2 separate regions of the Homo sapiens genome follow, and region 1 is linked to region 2. Evidence: promoter capture Hi-C in 16 types of primary human blood cells and fetal thymus (Javierre and others, 2016). All regions are on one chromosome and are shown on one strand. The core of a region is centred on a gene start or on the middle of the fragment in contact, and the rest is flanking DNA. Distances in the headings are between cores, read along the strand shown.

Region 1 (4,058 bases), core at 304-2,803, 270 kb after region 2:
CCTTGGAATTTCCAGGGGCACTTGATTTCCTGAAGAGCCTTTGCCTGTGCCCTAGAAGTGGAGGAAGCTCTAGAAGGAGTCATGACTGAAAGGTGGGGTCCGCCAAGGTGACAGATAGAGCTGGGAACCCTCAGCTCAGGGAGCCTCAGAACAGCCTTGGGCTGTGCCACTAAAAATGGCCCAAGCAGTGACCCAGCAGCCAGCAGTGGGGTTTACAATGAGAATCAGAACAGTGTTTGAATTTGTGGCATCAGGCTGTCGAGCCCCGGGTTGGCCCTGGCTGAGTGAAAGGCTGTGTCTGGCAGAAAAGAGAGCCCCTGCCCCTCCAGGAGTAAGCTCCCCTGAGACCACAGTGTGCTGGAGACAGCATGAGCCATGAGCCATGGGCCTGGGCATGGCCTTGGCCTGTTGGCCGGGAATAGCAGTGTTCTATAACTTCAGGGACACTTGTCACCTCGAAGTGGTGCCACCTGCCAAGACTGCACAGCCCTCCTGCCCCCAGGCACTTCACCCTGCTTCCCAGCCCCCTCATAAATGGACAGGGCAAGAGCACAGGCTGGCCCGGCAGCATCCTACCACCTCCACTTAACCAGCTCTCAGTTCCCCCAGGAAAGTCTTCGTGGGTTCCCAAATCATAGCAGTCATGCCCTCCCTCTGTGGACCCCTAGGCTCACTCTACCATGGGACTCAGTGTTTGAGGCTCTGTTTCCTCAAGAGCAGAGGGAAGACCACCAAAGTCTTAAGGCTGTAGGCAGGGTTTGGTAACTTGTATCAGGCACTCAGCTTAGAGTCTGGGGCTTCATAAATTATTCAGATTGTTAAAATCTCTCTCTGTGACCTCATCTGCCAGTGAGGAGCCTAGAGCCGTTCTGAAGGGTTGGGGGATTGACTGAGATGCCTGGAAAGAGATGCTTGGCATGGAGGGGAAGCCTCAAGCACAATCTCAGTGTCTTTAAGTCCTCTGAGGCTATTGGTGTGCACCCCCAGCTGCCCTCAACTCTATAAGCAAGCATTATCCCAGCCACTGTGGCCATCAGGGAACCCAGCCCTGGTGACACCAGGGCCCAGGAATCAAGTGGGGCAAATCTGAAGACAGCAAGTGTGCCTGTGGAACTGGGAGAGGCGAGGCAAGGGGTACGGCCAGAGCAGCGGGACCCAGGGCTGAGGGAGAACTAGGAGAGGGCCAGAGGAGACCCTCCTCGCGGCGACCCTGCTTCTCTCAGCTGCTACTTATGGCCCCTGCCCATCTATGATCCTGCCTCTGCCTTTCCCTCAGATGCCGTGGGGGTGTTGGCCTGGTGCTGGCTCCCTCCACCTGCCCTCAGCCAGGCCTCTTGGTCACTGCTGCCTATGCCCTTCTTTTCTGGCCCTGACTTAGCTTTATCCAAGCTCACCCCTGGCACATTCTCCACACCCTCCCTGAGGCCCGAACGTGAGTCCCTGGGCTGAATGCAGTGGGGCTTCTGCTGTGGCAGTTGGAACCTGGCCATGCCCCTTCCTCCTGTGTGGGCCGTGGTGAGGAAAACCAGGTGAAGCAGGGGCTGTCCCTTGTACCTGTCCCACTCCAGGAGACCCTCCTCAGCACCTTGGTTCTCTAGGAGCTTCATAGCCCTCCACAGGCCCGGTGTTAGAGGGACAGTGGAGGGAGAGGGCTGCTGTGGCTACTGCCCCTCTGTGGGGAACCGCTGTGTCCAGGTCATCCTGGGGCTGCCAGTATCATCCTTCTCATGGGTCTCTTGCTGCAAACACAGAAGCCCAGCTCCACCTGGTGTAGGCAGAAAGCCAGTTGGCTTGCTACCACCCTGCTGGCTCGTGACTCTGCCTGGTGGCTTCACTCTTCAGACCAGCTTTCTCTGGAGGCCAGCCTCATGGCCATAGGAAGTCCCCTCACCGTTCGGGAGGTATGTCCATCTGCACACCGCCCCAGGCCACAGAGAAGAGGGGTTATTCCTAAAGGCTCTCATTAGGAGGGGAAGCCTGACTGGGATCCTGGGGCCCATCTGCTGGCTGAATTCCCATGGCTGGTGGTGGGTCTTAGGCCTGGCCGAGCAGGCAAGGGGGCCAATCCTGGGGGCAGGGAAAGGACAAGCCCACAACAGAAGGGGCTTCTGGGAATAGTGCCCAGTGCAAGGTAAATAAACATAGGAGCCCCCATACTGGGGCATGTGAATGAAGATACAGTAAAGAGATGAACAAGGGCACACTAGCTGGCCTGACCCTGCCCGGGAAACGTGCCCTTCAGCACACTGTTACCAGAAAAAGGCCAAGCAAGATGCCAGAATGAAACCAGAGCACATGCAAATGTAAAATGCTGCCTTTCAAGCCTCTCAGGGCTGGCTGGGGAAGTTTTGAGAGTCACAATAGCATGGGGGTGGCCAAGCGGGCGGCGGTGTCTATGGTTCCCTTCTGATTTTCCATGGACTCACTGCCTGATTTGTTTGGTCTTCCATCCTTTCTGAAATCAGCAGTGTTATGTTACAAAAGGAAACGGAAAGGAGATAGGGATCCAAACTGTGCTGGTGTGTGTGATGCAAACTAGACCCGTCCTCACGGGTGTGTCTGTTGGTGTCTATGTGCCCTGGGAGGTGCAGGGATGGGAGGGTCTTCAGCGGGACGTACTGCTGCAGCACAGCGGATGGAGACCCAGGAGACAGTGTCTGCCCATTCTGGTGCCTACTGTAGATAGACCCTGTCTGTTGGAAAGCAGGTGTCTTTTCATAAGCTGCTTCAGGATCCACATCTGCATGGTAGGAAGATGCAGCATTGATGTTTGCTGCCCTGGATGTGGATAGCCTCAGTACCCTGGTTTTGTCCTTTTCAGGCACTGCCAGGAAGTAGAAGGTGGCTGCTGGCCTCCACATAGTCCCCCAGCCTGCAGGTGGACCCTCCATGTCACAACAGGAGCCAGTGTAGAGGCCACAGGGTCTCAAGGCTGCGAGTTTTAAACTCCTCTCAGGCCTTAACAGCTCAGGGCTGGAGGTGCCCTGGCTTTCCTCCCAGGGCTGCTAGAGCAGGGTGGGCCCACACCTGTGTACAGATACTGTGGATAATCAGCAAGGACCCACAGGGACAGGGCCCTGAGAGGGGTACCACCTAGACATCCTGCAGTGGTCCCTGTAGCTGGGGGCCCAAGTCCCCAGAATCCTATACTGCAGCATGATGTGGGCCAGGCCCCATGCCAAGGAGAAAGCAATGTCACTCATAACCTTGGTCCATTCTGGGCAGCAGTTTCTTCAGCGTGTTGGCTGCAGGGACCCATCTAGGAGCCAGTTCACTTATTCCAGGCCCCTGAGGTCCCACCCCAGAGATGGGCCTCCTTAATGCCTGTTTCCTCATCACTCACTCCCTGCTTTCCCCACACCCTGCCTGGACCCCGAGTAGGTGTCAGATGCCATGCTGGTCACTAGGACACTGCAGGGAACCAGGCCCTGGAGCTAGTGATAGGTAGGGGGTGCCCAGTGCTGCAGCAGGTAAAGCAAGGACCAAGGGAGATAATGGGGGGTGCTCCCCAAAGTCAACTTTGCCCTGGTTAAGCCTTCAAAGAGGAGTGGGGTAGGATGGCAAGAAGTGGGAAGAGGGAGGGGGACCCCAGGCATCCCAGGAGCTGCAGATGATTCTCTGGGCACTGCTGGAGAGAGTGGGTGAGGGCAGAGCCTAGCCAGAGCTTCCCTGCAGCCTGCTTTGACTCAGCAGTTCCACCTCTAACAAATGGTCTGGTGGCTGGGTAAGCACCTGTGCAGGGAGGTGTACACACTGGGCCTCTCACTGTCTGTCCTCACGTTTGATCAGGCCCCACCTGAGTGCATCCCATAGGGGACAGGTCCAGCAAACATATGAGATGCAGCCATACAAAAGAGGAGGCTGCAGAGCAGTGGGTCTGTCTGTCATTTGCTGCCACTCATGAGAAGGAAGGGGGTGGGGATACACTTCTGTCTCCTTGGGACAGTGAGAGGGGTCCAAGAAGCCCCTGGCTGGGCAGTGTCCCCTTTGGCACTGTGGCAGTTTCCAGGGGATACCAGACAGGGTGTCCCCGAGGCTCCTGCCACAACCACCCCCCT
Region 2 (3,710 bases), core at 788-3,287:
CAGTCAACAAGGACAGGTTTATTTTGGAAAACAAACTTGAGAGGGGCTTCTGGCCAAGTTAGGTCAGAGCCACACTCTCTTACAAACTAAGGATATTTAAGGGTTTTGGAGGGGGTTCTTATCATAGGTTCTGAATGTTTCTGTGTGAGGGAAAGTTTATTGCGGGGATGGAATGTCTCTGGTCAGAAGGGAGGCTGTCTCCGGGTTGGCATGTTTCTGGTCAGAGAAGGGTTTATCTTAGGGTTGGAATGTTTCTGGTTATGCTGACATTAGCTATTAGGCTGATATTTTCGGGCTGGATTTAGGCGGCTTTTAATTAAGGGGGAACTTAGAATGGTGGTGTTTGTTCAAGATGGCAATGCTCCTGCTCCGTCACTGGCCAGGTAAGGCAACCCTTTGTTATGGTAACAACCTGAGATTGGCAGGGGCTCACCTCCAGGGGCAGCTCATGTGCTTGCTGGCGAGGCTGCACCTTGTCATTCAGGTTCACAGGGCACAGGTCAACCAGGCCCTGGCTCTTCAGTCTTCTGCCTGGAGTGACTTATGTAATTCTGCTCAGCTTTCATAGGGCACAGGGAGTCGGGGCTAACTCTGCTGCCTGGGGCTGGAAACAGACTCCTCCCTTGAGGAGCAGCAGTCCACCATAGGGAAGTCACAGTGGTCCAGGCCAAAGGGGATGCAGGTAGTGTAGACTAGGCGGTAGTTCAGGGAATGGAGAGAAGTGGGAATAAAGGGATAGTGAAAGGAAGCATATTTTACTGGCAGGTGATGAGGTGTAGGAGGACAAGTCATACATTTGGACTTTACAGAGCAGTGGACACTCAGTCAGCTGCTGTCAGCGCCTGGGACTTAGGGGAGTGCCCCTGGCTGGAGACATGGTATGGAGTGCCATCAGTTAGGGAGCCCTGGGCACAGGTAAGAGAAGGTGTGACACCAGGAGGGAAAGAGTCTGGGGCCCAGCTGCAGGAACCAATACCCATAGGCTATTTGTATAAATGGGCCATGGGGCCTCCCAGCTGGAGGCTGGCTGGTGCCACGAGGGTCCCACAGGCATGGGTGTCCTTCCTATATCACATGGCCTTCACTGAGACTGGTATATGGATTGCACCTATCAGAGACCAAGGACAGGACCTCCCTGGAAATCTCTGAGGACCTGGCCTGTGATCCAGTTGCTGCCTTGTCCTCTTCCTGCTATGTCATGGCTTATCTTCTTTCACCCATTCATTCATTCATTCATTCAGCAGTATTAGTCAATGTCTCTTGTATGCCTGGCACCTGCTAGATGGTCCCCGAGTTTACCATTAGTGGAAAAGACATTTAAGAAATTCACCAAGGGCTCTATGAGAGGCCATACACGGTGGACCTGACTAGGGTGTGGCTTCCCTGAGGAGCTGAAGTTGCCCAGAGGCCCAGAGAAGGGGAGCTGAGCACGTTTGAACCACTGAACCTGCTCTGGACCTCGCCTCCTTCCCTTCGGTGCCTCCCAGCATCCTATCCTCTTTAAAGAGCAGGGGTTCAGGGAAGTTCCCTGGATGGTGATTCGCAGGGGCAGCTCCCCTCTCACCTGCCGCGATGACTACCCCGCCCCATCTCAAACACACAAGCTCACGCATGCGGGACTGGAGCCCTTGAGGACATGTGGCCCAAAGACAGGAGGTACAGGGGCTCAGTGCGTGCAGTGGAATGAACTGGGCTTCATCTCTGGAAGGGTAAGGGGCCATCTTCCGGGTTCACCGCCGCATCCCCACCCCCGGCACAGCGCCTCCTGGCGACTAACATCGGTGACTTAGTGAAAGGACTAAGAAAGACCCGAGGCGAGGCCGGAACAGGCCGATTTCTAGCCGCCAAGTGGAGAACAGGTTGGAGCGGTGCGCCGGGCTTAGCGGCGGTTGCTGGAGGAACGGGCGGAGTCGCCCAGGGTCCTGCCCTGCGGGGGTCGAGCCGAGGCAGGCGGTGACTTCCCCACTCGGGGCGGAGCCGCAGCCTCGCGGGGGCGGGGCCTGGCGCCGGCGGTGGCGTCACAAAAGGCGGGACCACAGTGGTGTCCGAGAAGTCAGGCACGTAGCTCAGCGGCGGCCGCGGCGCGTGCGTCTGTGCCTCTGCGCGGGTCTCCTGGTCCTTCTGCCATCATGCCGATGTTCATCGTAAACACCAACGTGCCCCGCGCCTCCGTGCCGGACGGGTTCCTCTCCGAGCTCACCCAGCAGCTGGCGCAGGCCACCGGCAAGCCCCCCCAGGTTTGCCGGGAGGGGACAGGAAGAGGGGGGTGCCCACCGGACGAGGGGTTCCGCGCTGGGAGCTGGGGAGGCGACTCCTGAACGGAGCTGGGGGGCGGGGCGGGGGGAGGACGGTGGCTCGGGCCCGAAGTGGACGTTCGGGGCCCGACGAGGTCGCTGGGGCGGGCTGACCGCGCCCTTTCCTCGCAGTACATCGCGGTGCACGTGGTCCCGGACCAGCTCATGGCCTTCGGCGGCTCCAGCGAGCCGTGCGCGCTCTGCAGCCTGCACAGCATCGGCAAGATCGGCGGCGCGCAGAACCGCTCCTACAGCAAGCTGCTGTGCGGCCTGCTGGCCGAGCGCCTGCGCATCAGCCCGGACAGGTACGCGGAGTCGCGGAGGGGCGGGGGAGGGGCGGCGGCGCGCGGCCAGGCCCGGGACTGAGCCACCCGCTGAGTCCGGCCTCCTCCCCCCGCAGGGTCTACATCAACTATTACGACATGAACGCGGCCAATGTGGGCTGGAACAACTCCACCTTCGCCTAAGAGCCGCAGGGACCCACGCTGTCTGCGCTGGCTCCACCCGGGAACCCGCCGCACGCTGTGTTCTAGGCCCGCCCACCCCAACCTTCTGGTGGGGAGAAATAAACGGTTTAGAGACTAGGAGTGCCTCGGGGTTCCTTGGCTTGCGGGAGGAATTGGTGCAGAGCCGGGATATTGGGGAGCGAGGTCGGGAACGGTGTTGGGGGCGGGGGTCAGGGCCGGGTTGCTCTCCTCCGAACCTGCTGTTCGGGAGCCCTTTTGTCCAGCCTGTCCCTCCTACGCTCCTAACAGAGGAGCCCCAGTGTCTTTCCATTCTATGGCGTACGAAGGGATGAGGAGAAGTTGGCACTCTGCCCTGGGCTGCAGACTCGGGATCTAAGGCGCTCTGCCCGCCGGAATCCGTTGTACCTAGGGCCACCACGTGGGGTGCTGGAGGTGAGCCGACCACGGAAGAGGGGGAGGAGGAGTTGGAGTTGGGAGGAGTCCGAGGTCTTCTAGGCCTAGACCTTTCTCTCAGCCCCACCTTCCCCAGCCTTCTTGTTGGGCAGAGGGTAGCCAGAGGACAGAAAGATCCCACCCAGAGCCACTCACTGCCATCCACTTTGTTAGGTGACTTCAGGAGAGTTTTCAGGCGGGTGGGTGGGGGAGGTGCAGAGTTCTTGGTCATACCGCCCCGTCCACCCCCGAACCCCACGCCTTGGGTTCTGCTCCCCTCAGACACCCACCAAGCCTCCGCCACAGCAGTTCCCTGAGGAAATTGGGCGTGGGGTTTCCATTGGGACCGTTCGTGTTCTGTGGTGCCACAGACATGTCTGTAAAACCTTCAGTTATGTTTGGGCGCAGTGGCACAAGCCTGTGATCCCGGCACTTTGGGAGGTGGAGGTGAGTGGAGTGTGACTCCTCTGCTTCTCTCAGTCTCCAGCCACATCTCGTCTCCAGTCCCCTGTTCACT

Evidence for each region. Contacts are between HindIII fragments. The CHiCAGO score rates a contact against its expected background, and 5 or more counts as called.
Region 1: a contact is called between a fragment that was not itself captured here and the fragment with the promoter of MIF in region 2, in 2 of 17 cell types (endothelial precursors and megakaryocytes). The highest score is 6.0, in endothelial precursors.

What each region holds. Positions count from the first base shown.
Region 1 is chr22:24,160,315-24,164,372 of GRCh38, forward strand. All of the region lies in intron 29 of CABIN1 (calcineurin binding protein 1), which reads left to right. Among named protein-coding and RNA genes, the nearest start is that of SUSD2, 19 kb to the right of the region's middle. The HindIII fragment of the contact is 7,010 bases long and covers 1-4,058 here.
Region 2 is chr22:23,892,346-23,896,055 of GRCh38, forward strand. MIF (macrophage migration inhibitory factor) reads left to right here and starts at 2,038. Exons shown (of 3, transcript NM_002415.2): 1 at 2,038-2,237; 2 at 2,427-2,599; 3 at 2,695-2,878. The coding sequence starts at 2,130. The coding sequence ends at 2,761. It overlaps MIF-AS1 (MIF antisense RNA 1), which reads right to left. Exons shown (of 3, transcript NR_038911.1): 2 at 3,484-3,710; 3 at 1,365-3,187. RefSeq lists enhancers at 1,713-2,520, 2,521-3,328. The HindIII fragment of the contact is 28,199 bases long and covers 1-3,710 here.